Linked DNA regions of Homo sapiens: all the other regions are linked to region 7. Evidence: promoter capture Hi-C in 16 types of primary human blood cells and fetal thymus (Javierre and others, 2016). All regions are on one chromosome and are shown on one strand. The core of a region is centred on a gene start or on the middle of the fragment in contact, and the rest is flanking DNA. Distances in the headings are between cores, read along the strand shown.

Region 1 (2,700 bases), core at 105-2,604, 2.4 Mb before region 7:
TCTTCTTAGGTCACAATGAGTGTCCTCTCAGGGCACAACTCAGATCTTCAACCCATGGCTCGCTGTAGGCCTGCCCCGCCAGGTCCTCCAGCTTGCCATTCATGTTTCCATCCTAGCCTTGGTTGTGCTGGAACTCAGGCTGGAGCCTGACACTTTGCCTATATGCAAAGGGAAGAAATAGGACTTACATTGCCAAGGAATCACTTCTTAATGTTTGCCAGCACTAAAAACAACAAAGTATAGGAATCTTTTTCCCCCACAGTCTCCACAAAGCTATCAATAAGTATAATTCGCATTTACAAGTTTTAGGCCTTCAACAGATGTAACTCCATCCAAATGAATCAATATGTGCCATCAACCTACCTTATAGAGGTGTTTTTCCTGATTACATGAGCAAAAGTAGCTACAGAAAGATGGGTGTAAAGAAAAGGCAATAAATTCTAGGTTATGAACTCTACTGCTTCTGGAGCTATTTCTGAGATTTTTCAGAACCTACTTTTTTATAAATAAGTCTAATTTGAGCATTCTGCAATACTTTTTTTCCTATCAGGAAAACTAATGCAGATAGTATTATGGGGACGTGTAGGTTTTATAGAAAAAAAAAGTACATGTATAATTCAAAACTCAACTTTGTATGTATAGGAGTCTGCTGGTTGTTTGCACAGCCTGATATGAGCACATAATAAAAGTCCGTCATTCCCCAACCCCCTCCCCCTACACACACAGCTTATTTTGGGAAACTGCCCCTTCCCTGTGTGATTTGGGAAGAGAAAGTGATAGGAATCAAGTTGTCCTCTGGCAGCCTCCTGGAGAGATGGCTGTGAGCTCTTGCTGCTTAAACCTCTAGTGCCACCCTCATTTCTGACCTACTGAATGCTCAGCTGTTTGGCATTTCCTTTGAATGACCCAGCATCTTCCCTTTTGTTGTCGGAAATCAGAATCAGTCTCTATTGCTTGTAACTTAAGAATCTGGATATTCTGTTTATTATATTCTTAAATGGTTATTTGGAAAATGTGCTCATTTATAAAAGTTACAGTGTCTTTTTAAAGTTTGCTGAAGTAAATGAAGCATATCGTCAAGTATGTTCTTTGCTTTTCATTCCTTACTGGTCTATTATGTGTTAGGCTAAGAGCTGAGGACACCTGCATAGTGAATTGAGTAGGCCAGATGAGTTGGCAGACCACAACACAGGGACCTCTAAAACATTCCTTATTAAATCAAACATACATTGCCTGTGAACTTGAGCGTTCACATATAACTCCTTACATGCCATCCATCCCCTCTCAGAACCTGAGAAGGTTCTGATGGTGTCTGTCTGCAGCCTTCATGGAACCCTTTTGAACAGGTTTTTTTCACTTGCTTTTATCTCAAGTAGCCCAGTAGTAAGTCAAAAGAATAGTTATTGTCTGAAGAGGGCACAGTGTTGCTCACACTTCCTGGTTTTATACATAATCCTGATTTGCCACAGAAACTCTGAGCCCATTGGCTTTCCCTCATAAGGTCCACATGGTGGAACTAATTTCACCATAGCCTGGACCAGCTAGAGAGACCTCTCTTTCTGATCCCAGTCAAAACTAGATGCATTTGGGTCAACCCCCGAATGAATTTGAGCAGGGTACACAGAATTTAAGTAAGCCCACTGTATTAGCTCATTCTTATGCTGCTAATAAAGACATACCCGAGACTGGGTAGTTTATAAAGGAAAGAGGTTTAATGGACTCACAGTTCCACATGGCTAGGGAGGCCTCACAATCACAGCAGAAGACGAAGGAAGAGCATAGGGATATGTTACATAGGGGCAGGCAAGAGATCTTGTGTAGGGGAACTCCCCTTTATGAAGCCACCAGATCTCGTGACACTTATTCACTACCACGAGAAGTATGGGGTAAACCACCCCCATGATTCAATTATCTCCACCTGGTCCTGTCCTTGACACATGGGGATTATTACTATTCAAGGTGAGATCTGGATAGGGGCACAGCCAAACCATATCACCCACCAAACCCTGGGAGTTCTCCTTAGTTATAGAAGGAACAAAGTACACAATTTGTTCCTCACAATGAAGGGGAAATCCCAGCATGTACCAGACACTGGACTTCTACAAAACTTGGCTGCAGGCTCTGTGCTTTCATGGGATTTATCGTTCACCCTCTGGGATGACACATCTTACTAGGCATCCAGGAAACATGACTCCATTCTCCAAGTCCAATCAGAATATCACCTGGAGGCATACAGCATGCTGCCCTGTATAGTGGTAAGCTGATCAAAGGTCTGATATCGAGACTGATATTCTGACATAGAAAGTTAATGTAATGTTGGAAAAAGACAATCTACATTGCTGCTTACTGAGATAAAGAAAATGCTTCAAGTGGTCTTTACTTACTGGAATAAAGGAAAAACAAAAAAGCATTGACCAAATCAGTAGCCAGCTACTTTCTGATTTGCTCCAAGAAAAAAGAACTTATATGACAGCAGCTGCAGTTGGAATCACCATCTGCTTAAGTTTCGGAATATGTGCAGCCATTCTATTTTTTTGAGACGGAGTCTTGCTCTCTCGCTCTGTCACTCAGGGTGGAGTGCAGTGGCCCAATTTCAGCTCAAAGCAAACTCTGCCTCCCGGATTCAAGTGATTCTCATGCCTCAGCCTCCCAAGTAGATGGGATTACAGGTGTATGCCACCACGCCTGGCTAATTTTTGT
Region 2 (2,700 bases), core at 112-2,611, 2.5 Mb before region 7:
CAAGACCTGGCAATTCTATTTTGAGGAATTTATCTTACAGATGTAATGTAAGTATTATATATTGCAACATTATTTACAGTAGTGTTTAGAAATGTATAAGTGCACATGATTAGAAGCTTGGTTAAATAAATTAGAGTTCATTTATGAAATAAAATACTTTGGCCATTAAGAAATGAAGCTCTTTAATGACAAGGAAAGATCTCTAAAACATGTTAAATGAAAAAGGCAGGTTTGGAATATATATATATATGGTGTTTTTCTTGTATTTACAGGAAATATTCACTAGTAAAACTGGTGCCTACAAAACAGAAGTTGGATAGTTGGAAGTTTTGCTGTATAGTCTTACGTACTTCTTAATTTTTAAACCATCATTATATATATACTATTCAAAATAATGTAAATATCTTTAATTATTGATTAGATCCTCAGAAGCATACTTTCGAGAAAATAAAGAGTTGTCACATTTTCGTGGCAAAAATGTCTCAGCATAATAGACAATAGATGTTAAAGATGCTGTTATTTCAGGTAGAAGCAGTAAGTACTTCAGTGCAGGACTCAAGTGTACTTGTACAGAGAAGCACACTGGACCTCATACTCTTCTGTTTTCCATTCCACATGAGTCAGGTAAAATATTAACGCCGATGTTATTATAAGGCATTCTTGGAAAACTGTAGATTGATAATGTGTAGTTATTTTTTAAAGGCATGTGTGTTGAATTCTTCTTGTATAAATCAGTAAGCGCATGGAAAATAAGTTCCTTCTTAAGGAGTGGAATTTGTTGTGAAAAAAAACTAAAGATAAAAGCTTCACTGATTTGATAAGAATATGGTCATTGAAGTAGATTATTTCATACTTTTGAAAAAAGTTGTAACATATAAAAAGCAAGAGGTTCTCTATTGCTAACTCTGAGTAAGCCAAGACTGAGACCCAGCCATCATCTGTACTGGTGTTATGTTATCTTGTTTTGGTGATTTTAACATGCATGCCAGACCCTTGGCAGAGTTGACTATAACTTAAGAGCCACATGTTTAGCCACTGTGATATTCTATAGTACTTTTATTACAAATAAGTGCAACTAAGTTGACAAATAATAAATGAAGTTCATTCCTAGAACTTAATTTAATCAGTGCCCTCATTTTAAAAGAAAGGATCTAAATTCCTTTGACTTATAAACCTTGATGAAGAGTGATTTACAGCACCAGTATATAGGCATTCAGAATGGTGGAACTACATACCTAACAAAAGTAATAAGATATAGAGAATATCTACCTTGGAAAAGTAAATTTATTCCTAAAAAGGACTATTATTTGAGGTTTTCATAAGAACTGTGATTAATAGATAACTGTAGTGAATTTGCATTATGACTGGCCAATTTTTTATTCATTATTTTATTAACATTTTTCTTTTACTTATTTAATTTGATATTGAAATATTAATAACTAAATAATTCTACTCTTCCTTGTCTATACTTTGACTAATTGGAACATAAACCACTCTGTTTCTATTTTGAGACTTTCACCCTTCAACCAAGGGACTTTATTCTGCCCTCTGGCTTTTCACAAAAACAACTGTTGAGTCATCTCAGCGTAATCTAAATTTACCAATGCTCTATTATAGGGATGGCCAAACAGCAGCTCATAAGTTAAGAAAGATTTATGTTTTTTTAAACACTTAGAAAACAAAGAAGAATATGCCAAAGCAATGTATGTGATCTGAAAGTCTAAATTATGTACTGTCTGGATCTTTATCCAAAAAATTTATTGACTTTCCTCTTGAACTTTTCCCATTGCTTTCTTACTTTCCAAACATTCAACATCATTAGGCCCTCAATTGACAGATGTCTCAACAAGATCTGAGGAATTAAGTCATAGTAGACTCAAGAATAACTTAATTTGTAATCTTAATATATCAGCGTTTCCTAAGCTTTTCTCAGCCTGTACTTTCTTACTCTGCCTTTTCTGTATTCCTGCCAGCCAAAATGTTCTAGATTCTTATATTCTATAATATGTATTATGGAAACAATAGCTTCGTTGAATGTGTTTTTTAAAAGTATACACCCAGTTCTAATAATCTTATAATTCTAATACTTTTCTCCCCACTATGCTACCAAATTCTAATATAGTTCTCCCTATTACTGTACCAAACTGAATAAGGATTATGACGTAGGTACCTTAGTGTTCCACTTTCCCTCTTTCTATGTCTTACATATAATAGAATACAATCCAAGTATGGATTGTATTATAATTGTGACTTAACAGTGCCTTCATTACCATATCCCAAAAGGATGATAGTTGTTAGGAACTTCAGCAGTGGGATGGACTGCTACACTTCTTTAACTTGTTTCCTGGAAAGCTCACCCAAATCTGTAGTACTTACACCTTTGAGATTATAATAGACTTTTTTTCATATTAGAAATAGATGGTGATATCAATTGTAATCAAGAAGCAACTTCTTTTTTAAATTTATTTTTTAATGGACATGAATTGTATATATTGATCCTGTACAACATGATGTTTGAAATATGTATACATTCTGGAATCTGTAAATGGAGCTAATTAACATTCATTACCTCACACAATTAATTTTTACAGTGAGAACACTTAAAATGTACTCTGAGCAGTTTTTAAGAATACAATACATTGTGGCCGGGTGTGGTGGCTCACGCCTGTAATCCCAGCACTTTGGGAGGCCGAGGCAAGC
Region 3 (2,700 bases), core at 147-2,646, 2.2 Mb before region 7:
GCACACAGTCATAGATTTGTAAAAGGTGCCTGTCACCACACACACAAAAAAAATCACTCACACTGACTATAACTTGTTAAATAAATCATGTCTTTAAGTCATTAATATGATCAACAAATCATCAGGAACACGACAAGGAAAAAGCTGAGCTTCTGTTCTTAATGTGAAATGCAGTCCACCAAAGAGACAACCAAAATAACTAAACAAACCTCTGTGCTGACTGATGGCATTTTCAGACTCCTGAATAAATAGGAAATGTCCAAAGCGCACGCACACACACACACAAAAGGAACAATCCCGAGACAAACCTGGCTGTAAAATAAGTGTGGAAGCAAAATGATAAATTCGGAGGTATTTTTTATTTGAGAGACATCCCGAGTGCTTATATTGCATCACCAGTGAAGGAAAATGAAATGTTACCAGGATCCGAAAAGGAGTCTCTGAACAGGGTGTACACTGAATTCCCCTTTAATAAAAAGAGAGCAGCTCTAAACAAAATTTTTTTTTAACTTCCAGAAAGCCAAATTAAAAACAAAACAAAACAAAACAAAACAAAAGAAAGAAAGAAAAGAAATGGCTTTACCCACAGTCCCATGTCTGGGACAGAGTTCTTCTACCAAGCCATGCAAAGTGTCCAAGACAGAGGCCACCCACCACGCATTCCCAGACTCTTAACCGTGTCACTCCAGAAACCGAGAGGACTTGGATTTCCAGATTGCTAACGTGATCTGAAGGCACTCAGTACACGTTTCTGTCTGGGCAGGACCAGTTGAGCCACTTCTCGCCTTATCAACTTCCAATAATTGCCACACTGTGTGTGCAACCAGTAAGTGAGTGGCACATGGAGTCTGACCTGGCACTCCATTCACACACTTTGTCTGATACTACTTTCATTGTCTGGGCTCTTGTTTTTGGAGAAGAGCTGCCGAAAAGTATCACCTTTTCCTCTATCACTAACCTTTACCTTTACCTCTATCCCTAACATGGGATGCCGAGGTGCAGAGGCACCAGCACTGCCCTGCCATCACTCTAGTGGATACGGACCCGATTAGGCGTCCTTCTTCCTTCTGCCCACACCAAGGCCCCCCAGGCCGCGGCCGCTCACCGGGAACCTTCCCAGGGGAGCGGCGGAGGGGCGAGGCCATGGTGCGGGGACCTGCAAGAGGGCCCTGACCCTGATAGAGAGGGGCCGATGGGCGGCCAGGTGGGCCTGCGGGTTTACCTTGTTGAGGTGAGGGTTCCGTGTCAGCAGGTAGCCGCGCTGATGGGTGTGGCGGCGACGGGGGGCTTCGGGCTCCATGGCTGGCGCCGGGTTCGGCGGCGGGGTCAGGCCGGGGCGGGCCGCACGCGCGGTGCAGGCGGCGGATGCTGCTGGGGTGACGGTGCTGACTGCAGCTGTGGCGGCGGCGGCCGCACTGGGAAAGGCCCAGCGGCTGGGGGCGGGCGTGGGTGGCGAGAGGGGGTGGACGCGTCGGGAGGGGCCCGAGCGAAGCCGGTGTCCCCAGCAGGGCAGCCTGCGAGAAGCGCTGAGTCATGGCAGGAGATCATCCGAGCCGGCGTGTGAGGAGGAGGAGGAAGAGCGAGTCCTGGCAGCGCTGCTGGTGGCGGAGCGGGGGTGGCGGCCGGAGCCCTTGGCTCCATAGGGCCTCTGCCCACCATGGGCTTATGATCACCGCTGTGGTCGCCTCTCTCCATGTGGGCATGCCTAAACGCAGTGCACTGGGTGGCTCTGCTGACCCCAGAGACCCAGGGCGGGGGCAGGGAGCGGGGAGCGTCAGGCCAGGATCCCCCTGCCCGGGAAGGCTGGAGAAAGTGCGAGAAGATGCCAGAAGGTGCGAACCTGAGCGGTTCAGGCAGAGCCGGCGGTCGCTCAGACACCTAGGGGGATTACAGGACGGAAGGACTCGTGAGGGGTCCCCAGAACTGTTGACAGAACACCTCGACAGGCTGAGGAGAATCAGACTCGTCTCTCCTGTCTTGTTAGCGTCTTGGAAGCCCTCTTTCTACAGATCCACAACCTTCGCCGTGCCATCCAGGATGCCGGCCATGCCCGGGGCCCTGAGGCCGGAGGGAACCAACCTTGACCCAGAATGCCGAGGCCCAAGGGAACTGGGAGGAAGCCCAGAGAGGAGAGCTCAGGCGCCACACCTGTCAGTTTCTACAGATTTTCCACCGGAATTGTATTTGAATGTCAATAAGATAAGAGTCAAGGTGTTAGGGTGCAAAGGCCCAATGAACAGTCCTGTTTATCTTGTATATTATTTCTCTGGGAGTTCTAGAAACCTGATGTTCAAGAACCACTGCTCTCTCTGAATAATGATGAGTAAGCAGTCTTTCAGGCCTTCCTCCCAACCTCAGGTGATCCGCCCGCCTCCGCCTTCCAAAGTGCTGGGATTATAGGTGTGAGCCACCGCGCCGGGCCATTTTTTTATTGTTTTATTGATATTTATGCTTGGAGGTTCATGGACTGGAGGAATAGTCAGATCATAGCCAAAAGGAGTGCCTGTCTGATAAAAATAAATTAATAGCAACAGACACTAAAGCCTTCTGTGCCCCAGTTTCCTTTTCAGTTAAATAGGATTGCTAGTTTCTGTCCCATTTGTCTCTGCATACTGATATTACAAAGGATAGTGTTTGAGATTATTTGCTGATTTTATATCTCCATATACTAGACACACATCCAATCACAGTGTTTTCATT
Region 4 (2,700 bases), core at 62-2,561, 2.5 Mb before region 7:
AAAAGTATGGTCTACAAAAACAAATATAATGAGAGTTCTAAAGGCTACCAAAATTATCAGCCAGTTCAGTTGTGCCTTAGTTTATGCCAAAAATGTCTGACTGAAAATTTACATGTATGCCAGGAAAAAAGCCTAAAATACATTTGAACACTATTTAAAACAATTCTATGAGAATTCCTCTTTTAAGAAGCCTGTATCTCCTGATCTTCACCTCTTTAATTTTTTAAATAAAAGTATCTGGCCAGGCACGGTGGCTCACGCCTGTAATCCCAGCACTCTGGGAGGCCAAGGTGGGTGGATCACCTGAGGTCAAAAGTTCGAGACCAGCCTGGCCAACATGGTGAAACCCCATCTCTACTAAAAGTACAAAAATTAGCCAGGTGTGGTGGCATGCATCTGTAATCCCAGCTACTTGGGAGGCTGAGGCAGAAGAATTGCTTGAGCCCAGGGAGGCAGAGGTTGCAATGAGCCGAGATCACGCCCCTGCACTCCAGCCTGGGCAACAGAGCAACACTGTCTCAAAAAAAAAAAAAAAAAAAATCTATTAAATTCTTAAAGTATGCTGTTTCCAGATTATAATAATTTCCAATTACATTGTGTACTTAAAGCTAGCCTGAGATTTATTTCTAAAATAGCAAAATGAAACAAATCTCACATTACTAAGCTTATCATAATCAGTTAATATATCAGATGATGAGATTTCCTATTAGAATTTAGGGCTTTTATGGAGTGACCACAGAACTGTCATCAAAGTTTCAATTATGATGGAAGCAAAACTTCCTAAAGCTTCAAATCACAAAACTCAGCCAGTATAAGGAGGAAAAGAGTACCTTCAGGTTCCAAAGCCAATGCCTCAAATGTTCAAATGACTGGGTATTACCACTGCTCTTTTTTTAATTTTCTGCCCACTAATGTAAAGAATTTGTCATAAATTGTGCCCTTCTGACAAATGATTGTAAAATATGGAACTATTTCACTACTAAGTCTTGTTTTAGAGGGTAGCCAATCCCCCCACCATACCTCCACCAGGAGCTCTTTAAGGAAACTGCTAATTAACGTTGCTATCTTGTCTCCATCTATGAGATGAAAGTGGCCATCTGCATCATGGTAGTAATAAACAATTCTGTCTGCATCTCCATCAAAAGAACAGCATCTTTCATTGGACTTAATTTCCATTCCTAGCACACAGGATAATTTAACATGCATTTCAGTCTAAGAATTTATTATAAAGAGTTTTAGAATTTTCTCTTAAAATTATCCACCTAAAAATCAATGTCTTAATCTTAAATAGTGTATAATCTTTAAATAGTACATAGTTTATTAGTGGTTTTTACAGGTCAAATTCTTTCACTGCAAAGTGAAAAAAGGAGCATTCAAAATCTATGCTGATATTTGCTATAATACTACCATAAAATTCCACTTTATAAGCAGGTTGGTTTGGCTAGACAGGTGTCCCATAAAGGTTTTTTGAAAGCTACATGTATTTCTGAATGTAATTTACCTAGGACCGTGATCTCCTTTACATAGAAAAAATAATCAGCACTAGATGATGTATGTGCTTTAATTCTAACAGAAATGATTTTTATTTGTTCATACCACCAATAAAAAGAAACACTGATAATTAAGAGCAAAGAATTATAACTTTGAGAGATAACTGGCCTGTGAAATTTACATAAAGTTGCTGAAATCTCAGCAATTGTCACATCAAATTTATTAGAAAATTTGGCTATTCCTTAGCCATGACAGCAGCAGAGTGACAAATTCAACATGAGACAACTAAGAAGTAAAAGGCTTTTGTCAGGAATGGGATCATAAGATTGATGAAAGGACATGATGCAAGCTTCAGGAAAGCAAGGACTATGGTTTTGTTCATACTGTAGTCCCAAAGCCTAGAGCATAGAGAGTAAGAGCTCAGTATTTAAGAAATGGATAAATAAGTGGCAGAACTGAACTGTCAAGTAAATGTCAAAACAAGCAATTCAATGAAAAGGAGCTCAAATTGGTTGACTACACTGACATTTTAAATGCTTACTAAGTAAAGCATAATAACATGAATGAATGAGGCAACTGGATGAAGTCTGTAGAGTTCCAGAATGCATGTCCTATTTTAGGGGAGCAGCATCTATCTGACTGTAGTGGACTAATGCCATGTGTGAACATTTTCTGATTTTGGTAAAGAGATGCTAGAGATTCCAATATATAAGAGAAGTCACGGAATTTTTAAACAGTGGCACACAGACAAACACACAAATGCAGCCAGCCAAACAAAACATATCTGCAAGTCAGGTTTGGCCTAAGCAAATAATTTAGGGTCTATAATGCAGATAAATCCAGAACACCTCTTACTACAACTAAAATCTGAAGAAAAGTCTTCCTCCTATTCTGCACTGAGTGGAAAACACTGATTGCTAACAACTGTATAAGCAGAGTTACATTTGCTTTCCATAGTGTATTTAATTCAGATAAGGTATCTAATAATACTTACTATGCTCCCCTGTAGATCTGTGATTCTCAAAAAGGGATCCCCAGACAAGCACTGGGAACAAAGCCTGCAAACTTGATAGAAATGCAAATTTCTATCATATGCAAATCCTATGCCAGACCTCCAGAAACTCAGAAGTGGAGCCCAGGAATCTGTGTGCTAACAAGCCCTCAAAGTGATTCTGACACATGCCAGTTTGAGAACCACTGCTCTAGAAT
Region 5 (2,700 bases), core at 28-2,527, 2.6 Mb before region 7:
AAACAACACTTTCTCTGCCCATTATTAGGTGCAATCAGGGAGTCTACTTCCCAGCTCGGTGACCCTAACCTTCTTGCTATGGTTATTCCAACAGTCATTCCTAGTATTTATCCTACAACATTTAAGTGCCATGACATCTCTTTTCCCTACCCTTTGTTCCTAAAACTAACCCTGCCCAACTCAAACTAGTTATTCACTAACCCAGGACTTGAGCAAAAATTGCTCTCCAGTAAAAAAGAAATGAAACCCTCTCTATCTTCTCTTTCCTCACAAAAGCCAAGAGCACAGACTCAGGGGAATACTCAACATCTCCTAAATGGCTCTTCCAAACACTCCTCCTGACCCCATCTCCAGGATCCACACAGCGCAGATGAAAGGTTTATTACAGATGAGGCAGCAGCGAAGTGTCAGTGTGCAGCTGAAAGAATTACAATCTTTCTCTGATAATAAACATCACATAAGTCTTTTACAGCCTATTTCCCCCTTTGACATAATTTTAATCCCCCAAAGCATATATTACGTACATTGTAATAGATGTAATGAACCAATAATTTTATACAATAAATAACCCTGAGGTCTTAGAAAAAGCAAATTTTCCACTGCCTTACCGAATCATTATACCAGTTACAAAATGTTGTAAATATAACAGGCATAGTAAAAGTTAAAATCAAATTAAGTATCAAACTCAACTGTAGGACCTTTTGTGTACTGTTTTCTCTATTTGGAACAGTCCCCACATGGATAGGATTTCCTTATTCAGGACTCAGGTCAAACATTACCTCCTCAGAGTGGCCTTCACTGATCATCCTTCAGCCAACCCTAGTCACTCCCTATCCCATTATTCTGTTTTATATTATCATAACACTTTTCTTAATATTTAAATTGTTTGCTCATTATCTGCTCCCACCAATTAGAATGTAAGCTCCATGAGAGCAGACACCTCCCCTACCTTGTTCACTCTGTATCCCCAGAACCTAGATTGATGCCTAGCACATAGCACAAACCAAAATATTTGTTGAATGAATAAATTTCCATGTAATGCTTTAAAATCAATCAGGTCTTATACAACTGCCATCTGATTTAATCTTCCCATCTGTGAGCCAGAAAATTTTACAATTAAAGAAACAAGGCAGTGGGTAAATGGGAAATCTCTATACTTTCTGCTCAATTTTGCTGTGGGTGGAAAAGAAAGAAGGAAGGGAGGGAGGGAAGAAGCCTCAGAAAGGTTAAGTAACATGTTCAATTGCATACAGCCAATAACTGGCAGAGCTGACAAAGACCCTAGAGCTTCTCAACCCCTTCACCTGGGAAAAGTTCAACTTATCAAAGGAAAAATCACCTTTGGTTTATAACAAAAAGGTAAATACAGCAGCAGAAGTGCTAATATTACTCACTTGTGCCTAATTTTGCTTGCGTCTGCAGTCGCAGGTGCAGTCCATCTCCAACAACAAACTGTAGCCCACGGCAAGAGGAAGGTACAAGCCTGACCTCTGCTGGAAGCTGGATTTCTGTGCAGCCTTCAGGGGTTTTCATCTGGAGTGAAGATGGCATTATGGAAATATTCATGGGCATACCTCCTTCTTTCGGTTCTCTGGTAATTAAAAACAAAACCCAAACAAATTATTTCTCACAATGAAAACCACATGATGAAAGAAACAAAAATGGCCAAGGATCTCTTTCTTCCTCTTCAATAGGAGCTCTAAAGTCACTGCCCCAGAAAAACAGCAGCAAGCAGATCATAAAGGAAAGCAACCTACACTAGATTTAGATCTGATCAGAGTGCCCTTCACCATCACCATAATATGCAAGTCCTGGGACAGATTTTTGGTTCTTCCTTCTGAGAAGAGCACTAAAATAATGTTTTATAGTAAATCAGAGCAAAGTACTGTTATTTCATATACAAGATTTTAATAAAGAGACCAAGATTCAGTGAAACAATGATACAAGACAAAAACCTGTCAATTTTAAGAATAAAAAGAATTAATGAAGAAAACGATACAGTGATGTATGAATATCAGGTGTGAAAGGACTTACTAATCCAATTCAGAGCAAACACAAATTACTCAGTATAGGCAATAAAGAGTAAAACACAGTCCCTGTCAAAAGCCCCCAGGCATCAAAAGTATAGAGGGGATAAAGGCATCTATGGAAATGACCCTCCTCTGAAACTGCAATACGCTTAGCAATGCAACAGAGGTACAAAGTACCATGGCTCCCTCTTAAGTGCAGACAGCAGGTCATCCACATGGTGTCAACTAAGTGCAGACAGCAAGCCATTTGCTTGAGTGTCATCTGAGTACAGAGGGTAGACCATGTGCTCAGGTGTGGATCTTGGTTAGGCCTTAGAAATCTGCCTTAGAAAATCTTATAGCTACTTTCTGGCTAGTTCCTTTTCAAAGCATATGGATCTGCACTTAGTTAGCAATACAGAATATTAAGCATCTGAGTTTTTTGCAGGGATGACAGTTTCAAACCTGAGTCAAAAGTTCAATTTCAAGAAATGGTGTTTAAGAAATAATGATCCTCTAAAACAAGAGTCAGCAACTTTATTTCTGTGAAAGACCAGATAGTAAATATTTTAGGCTTTATGAGCCATGTATGGTCTCAAAGTAGAATACATATTATACTTTTTATTTTTTAAAAAACAACCCTTAAAAAATGTAAAATCAGCAGGTCGAGGTAGCTCACTCCTCTAATCCT
Region 6 (2,700 bases), core at 41-2,540, 2.6 Mb before region 7:
GCACAAGTACAAACTTGTGTAATTAGGAAGATGATGGTGCTGTTGACAGTAATGAAGGAAAACAAGGAAATTCAGAAAATAATAGCAGTGCTTGACAGACTTTACAGCATTTCTTGGAGTGATATTCTGACAACAGAGGTACTGTGAAATGGAAAGTGAGGAGAGGTGTAGTAACAGTTTATGGTTTATCAGTATTTTGGAGGGTGCCTATGTTTTGTAGAGATTTTTTACAATAATTAAGCAATACCTTATTTTGGTTCTTATTCTATTACGTGCTTCAGAATCTGCAAAAATATCTAGAGTTAATTCTCTCTTACAGAATTAACACCTCAGCAAAGTTATTTTGTTCTTTCATGATGAGCATTATTAATATTGTTGTTTTGTTACCATCTTAACCTTAAAACATGAGAGGGGATGGACATTGAAGGGTTGTAGGAGCTGGGGGAAGGTCTGCTGTAGGCTGTACCCCATTTTTCTCTGTAAAGTATCTTGATATCCTCAACATTAATTCTAGTTTACTTTGTCCATCAAGGGAGTTAACCCTTGTGCAAGGCTACTTTCTGTCACCATTCTTTCACAGATTTTGGAAACTGATGTGCACAGATACATGCATGGTCTGTGTCCAGGGTGAACCCTTTTTTAAAAAAGCATCTTTAAATAAAAGTACTCAGCTAAAGTGTTGGTGACTTCCTGTGTAATATTTTGATCTTATCTTTTAAATACATAGGCATGATTGAATTTGCATCTCAGTGAATTTTTTTGCATGTGTGCTTTTTCTTATGATTTTACTTTTGGAACAGTCTTAATAAAATGGGCAAAGAAAAACGTTAAAATTCCATGGGATTTTTTTTAATGGGAAAAATTTGTTTCTACTGGCTGTGATTAAAATTTGTTTACAGATATTCAGTTAAATTGGAACACACTAGGAAGTATAGAAAAATGTTTGGCTAGTATGTATAGTACGGCATTGTTATGTTAACTTATGTAAAAACCAGTCTTTATTTGAAAATCCAACTCTGTAGTAAGTTAATAGCATACTATTTATTTTTTAAATGCTGAAAACGTTAAATTACTAATTTTTAAATATATTGGTTAGATTTTATTTTGCAAATAATGATTTGATTAACTTAATATGGGTTTAATTATGCTGTAAAAATTATTTTTGCTTATTTCACTTTATTTCTAGTAGTATGTTTTAGCATATGTAAAAGTTTAAGCAAAATCATTGTCATTAAATGAAGAATGATAGCTACAAATAAAGATACTTTGAGAAAGGTACTTTCTGATGAAAATTTATGTTTCAAATAAGCTGGAAAGAAATACATGGTGGGATAGTTAACAGTTAGTTATTCCTCATCTTGCGTTTCACCTCTCTAATCATTCTGAATAGCAATGCATTCATTTTTATCATTATTCTCATGTCTTACCTTCTGCTGTATATAAAAAATAAGCCATGTTTTCTTTCTTCTTCCAAACTATTAATAAAAGCAAAACAGAATGTGGTCAATCTAGATAATTTAGATGTTCTTTAAGTGTACTATTCTGATATTTACTCTTAGGCTGATTTTTTTTCCCCTGCCATCTAAAATGTTTGTTTCATTTCCCCCTACCCAATCAATGTATACACAGTGAAATCAAACATTTTAATGTTAGGAAAAACAAAACATTAGAAAGATATGTTTGAAAAAAGCAGATATATCCTAAAAGCAAAATTTAGTTGTTTGGGATTCTGTTTTACATTATCCACACAACTACTTCTTTCTATAGATACTGTTAATACAATGATATATGACTAAACCAGAATATTAAACTATCAGTGATGTTCACAGGTTTCATCAAAATAAGGAAAACTTCCTTGATATATTTGTTTTCTGAACTATCATTTTGTCCCCTCATAACTAATAACCCTCAGGAATTATATCTCCCTTTGCCAAGAGAAAAAACCTGTCTTTAGTAGGTCCTATAAAGCATCCCTTAGGTGCTTAATAATAGAATTTGTGCACTAAAGCATACTGCTAATCCAGCAAGAATCCTGTCATCAGCCCTGCACATCCTAAATTTGGGGACAGCCACATCTGTAATACTGTTTTTGGATGTGTAACCCAACCTGCAGTACCTCTGTAGTATTTCATCCCACTTCAGAGCATTTTTACCTCTTAGGAATTATTTTCTAGGGAGGAATAGATTGTTGTCTTTTATGTTCTGTATATAGTTCCCCTTGTATATAGGTTCACCACGGCCATTTATTGAATTAAAATCCCTGTTTTATAATGTCTGTGTCACCCAAAACAATCTACAGATTCAATACAATTCCTATCAAAAGACCAATGACATTCTTCACAGAAATAGAAAAAAGAAAATCCTAAAATTTTGTGGAACCACAAAAGACCCCAAATAACCAAAGCCATCTTGAGCAAAAAAACAAAGCTGGAGGTGTTCTACTACCTGACTTCATAATATACTACAAAGCTATTGTAACCAAAATAACATGGAACTGGCATAAGAACAGACAGACTGACTAATGGAACAGAATAGAGAGCCCAGAAATAATTCCACACATTTACAAACAACTGTTGGTTTGTTCGTTTGTTTTTTGAGACAGAGTCTCACTCTGTTGCCCGGGCTGGGGTGCAGTGGTGTGATCTCACCTCACTGTGGCCTCTGCCTCCAGGTTCAAGCGATCCTCCTGAGTAGCTGGGA
Region 7 (2,700 bases), core at 90-2,589:
CACCAGCTAGCCTATACCTCCCTTTAAAAAAGCCTTACAGTCACTATCGCCTGACAAGCCAGATTTGGAGCACAGGGCACAGAAGGACCGATTCACCATATTCTTCCTCAGCACCACCCCTGACTCACCTGCTAACACTCCCTAGGAAAAACCATATTACAAATAGAGCCCAATCAGCACGGGTACGAGCCAGCGTGCCACATGCAGCTGTGCCCGTTCGGAAAATGAGGTGTGTGTGGAGAAAGCAAAACTGGGCTCCTCTCTCTCAAAGATAAACCCCCAAAGTGCGCGCTTTTCCCGCCTGCCGCTTATAGATCGGTAACAACAGCCAGCGAAGAACAAAGCGCTCATACAAGCCACCTTCCCACCACCCAATTTCTCCACCCTTTAACCCCGCACCCCAAAGCCCGCCCCTGACTCCGCACCCAGAGCGGCAGTCTCACCACTGCGGCCGCCAGGAGCCCATTAGAAACACGTGCTCTGCGCCTTCCAATGTCCTACAACTTCCTTCAACGGCAACCCAACGAATCCCAAACCAAGACGACCATCACTGGTTCCCAACATCAACCCGAAGCCGCGGTCGGAGCCCCCAGAAAGCTGCAGCAGCACAATCTCTCCCCTGAACACCGAGGCACCGGCGGCGCCAGGCCACAGGCTCTCCCCGCCCCCCAGCGCCGCCGTCTCCGCCGTGACACATGGCTCTCCGCCCCTGGCGCTCCCCGGGCGCCGACGACCCCCGGCCGCCCGCCCGGCCGAGACGTGACCCGTGGCGCGCTGTGCAGGTCCCCACCCCTTACCCTTCCGTGCAGTGACTGCGACGCCTGCCCGGCAACCCAGCAGCGTGAGGGCGTTCAGCGGACGGCTCAACGCCCGCGGGACCGTGAGCACCGCCCAAGCTCGCCGCACGGCTGCAGGACAAGACCCACTCCTCTCCGCCCACTCCCGCGCCGCGGCGACCGCCACGACAGCACCAACTCTGAAGCCGCTCGCGGTCCGTGCGGGCCACGGGACCGTGGAGGCGCCTCCTCCCAAAGCGCCGCAGACAAAGCCCGAACCGCAGCAGCACATGGAAAGGAGGAAGTGGCGGCGCGGGCCGCGGCCTACTCCCAGGCAGCCCCAGTCAACGTGCTCTTCTCCCCATTGGAATCCATTTTCCAGAAAAGCCGGTTTCTACCCGCGCCACCCTCCCCCAGCTCACTCCACAATGTCATGGAGCTCCCCTCCCACACCCAGGTTCTGGCAGTCGTTACCTCCCCGTTGGGCTGAGGCGGAGAAATCCTGTCCGATGGTATCGGGTTGCGGGAAACGCGTGCTCGCTGCTCCCTGTGTCCGGCGCGAGTGGAGCTGTTGTAAAATGGCGGCCGAAGCTCACGCCGCTGGCAGCAAACCCGATCCAGTTCCACTCGCCTCCGAGCGCGCTCCCGGTGCGCGCGCGCGCCCCCGCGTGACCCCCCCTTCCCTTCCCTTCCCTTCCCTCCCCTCCCTCGCGCGTCCGCTTCACTCACTCCCTCAGCCCCTGCCCTCCTCCAGCTCCTCCTTCTCCCCCTACCACCACCACCACCACTAGCCTCTGTCCGCCTTCTCTCGGCCTTTCTTATTCCCGCCCCCCGCTCCTTTACCCCACTGCTCCCACTCCCCTCTGCGGTCGCTCAGGCACGAGTGGCCGCCTTTCCCCTTCTGGCTCGCACGCTCCCTCACTCCCTCCCTCGCTCGCTCGCACTCTCGGCCCGGTCCCCCAGTCCCTGCCGAGTCGGCTCCTCTCTTTCTCTCTCCCGCGCTGACGTGACAACGTAGCCTACGCCTCGGGACGCGCGCCCGCGGGCTCCGCCCCCACGCCGCGCCGCCTTCCCCGCTCCTCACCCCTTGGGTTGGGGGTGGGGGAGGCACAAGACCCCGCCCTTCCGCTCCGACGGTGGCGGCCGAGGGGCCGAGACTGAATGAAAGGCCCGCCCCTTCCCCTCCCGACACTCCCCCTCCCTCTCCCCTCCAGGCGGGGCGGGCCGGCTCAGCGTGTCCCACTCGTTTTCCTTTGTCAGGAGACTGGCATCTCCCCACCCCGCCCCACCCCACCCCCTCCCCGCGACACCATGCGCACGCCACCCCCACCGAGCTCCCGCCCGCCCCATCCCTGCCCGGTCCGGGGCTGGCGGGGCAGAGTGCTGTGGGCGCTGAGTGCGACTGCCGCTTCCCGGAGGGCACCCACCGGTCTGTGCGCGCCCGGCCCCCGCCCCCGGCTCCGCGGCCGCGTAGCCGTTCCAGGCGGTGTCCACGCCGCTGCCACCGCCCCGCGCTCTCCTCCTCGGGAAGCTGCAGGCGCACGTGTCCCCCGGGGCGGGGCGAGGCAGACAATGGGGCCAAGGGGGAGGGGAGCGGCGCGGAGACCCGCGGACCTTTGGTCCGCCGGACTGGCGGTACTCGAGTGCGAGAGTCGCCCTTGGAGACTCGATCTCCCCAACTGGACAGTGGGCCCTCCTCGCAGCCGCGCGGCTCCGCTTTCACGGGAACCTTCGGCGAAGGGAGGGGCGCCCCAGGCTTGGACGCGGAAACCCCGGCTGCTTTTGAAGGGGGAACGGGGCTGGCTCCAGTGGAGCGAGGAGCGGCTCCTGCCTTGGGATGACACGAAGGCCAGATTTGGAAGCGAAACCGCCCGGTGGTGAAGGGTTGTGCAATACTCCGTTTCAGTCCCTGGCCTTTTAAGCA

Evidence for each region. Contacts are between HindIII fragments. The CHiCAGO score rates a contact against its expected background, and 5 or more counts as called.
Region 1: a fragment that was not itself captured here is called in contact with the fragment with the promoter of SYNCRIP in region 7 in 3 of 17 cell types (neutrophils, fetal thymus and non-activated CD4 T cells); the score reaches 6.3 in neutrophils.
Region 2: a contact is called between a fragment that was not itself captured here and the fragment with the promoter of SYNCRIP in region 7, in 1 of 17 cell types (total B cells). The highest score is 6.6, in total B cells.
Region 3: a contact is called between the fragment with the promoter of ME1 here and the fragment with the promoter of SYNCRIP in region 7, in 1 of 17 cell types (M0 macrophages). The highest score is 7.6, in M0 macrophages.
Region 4: a contact is called between a fragment that was not itself captured here and the fragment with the promoter of SYNCRIP in region 7, in 2 of 17 cell types (non-activated CD4 T cells and naive B cells). The highest score is 8.5, in non-activated CD4 T cells.
Region 5: a contact is called between a fragment that was not itself captured here and the fragment with the promoter of SYNCRIP in region 7, in 4 of 17 cell types (naive CD4 T cells, total B cells, total CD8 T cells and 1 more). The highest score is 9.8, in naive CD4 T cells.
Region 6: a contact is called between a fragment that was not itself captured here and the fragment with the promoter of SYNCRIP in region 7, in 1 of 17 cell types (total B cells). The highest score is 6.9, in total B cells.

Annotation. Positions count from the first base shown.
Region 1 is chr6:83,197,853-83,200,552 of GRCh38, forward strand. It overlaps RWDD2A (RWD domain containing 2A), which reads left to right. Exons shown (of 3, transcript NM_033411.5): 3 at 1-1,083. Among named protein-coding and RNA genes, the nearest start is that of RWDD2A, 5.8 kb to the left of the region's middle. The HindIII fragment of the contact is 3,139 bases long and covers 1-2,700 here.
Region 2 is chr6:83,112,798-83,115,497 of GRCh38, forward strand. It overlaps DOP1A (DOP1 leucine zipper like protein A), which reads left to right. Exons shown (of 39, transcript NM_015018.4): 7 at 526-624. Among named protein-coding and RNA genes, the nearest start is that of DOP1A, 46 kb to the left of the region's middle. The HindIII fragment of the contact is 1,119 bases long and covers 803-1,921 here.
Region 3 is chr6:83,429,655-83,432,354 of GRCh38, forward strand. ME1 (malic enzyme 1) reads right to left here and starts at 1,397. Exons shown (of 14, transcript NM_002395.6): 1 at 1,223-1,397. The coding sequence starts at 1,300. RefSeq lists enhancers at 611-880, 1,501-1,670, 1,613-2,700 and a silencer at 1,101-1,290. The HindIII fragment of the contact is 4,994 bases long and covers 1-2,700 here.
Region 4 is chr6:83,178,790-83,181,489 of GRCh38, forward strand. PGM3 (phosphoglucomutase 3) reads right to left here. Exons shown (of 13, transcript NM_015599.3): 7 at 1,021-1,178. Among named protein-coding and RNA genes, the nearest start is that of PGM3, 13 kb to the right of the region's middle. The HindIII fragment of the contact is 1,054 bases long and covers 785-1,838 here.
Region 5 is chr6:83,056,432-83,059,131 of GRCh38, forward strand. It overlaps UBE3D (ubiquitin protein ligase E3D), which reads right to left. Exons shown (of 10, transcript NM_198920.3): 2 at 1,395-1,591. Among named protein-coding and RNA genes, the nearest start is that of UBE3D, 8.1 kb to the right of the region's middle. The HindIII fragment of the contact is 7,857 bases long and covers 1-2,700 here.
Region 6 is chr6:83,078,545-83,081,244 of GRCh38, forward strand. All of the region lies in intron 1 of DOP1A (DOP1 leucine zipper like protein A), which reads left to right. Among named protein-coding and RNA genes, the nearest start is that of DOP1A, 12 kb to the left of the region's middle. The HindIII fragment of the contact is 3,746 bases long and covers 1-2,700 here.
Region 7 is chr6:85,641,547-85,644,246 of GRCh38, forward strand. SYNCRIP (synaptotagmin binding cytoplasmic RNA interacting protein) reads right to left here and starts at 1,340. Exons shown (of 11, transcript NM_006372.5): 1 at 1,251-1,340. RefSeq lists silencers at 390-439, 660-809, 1,400-2,419. The HindIII fragment of the contact is 3,992 bases long and covers 1-2,700 here.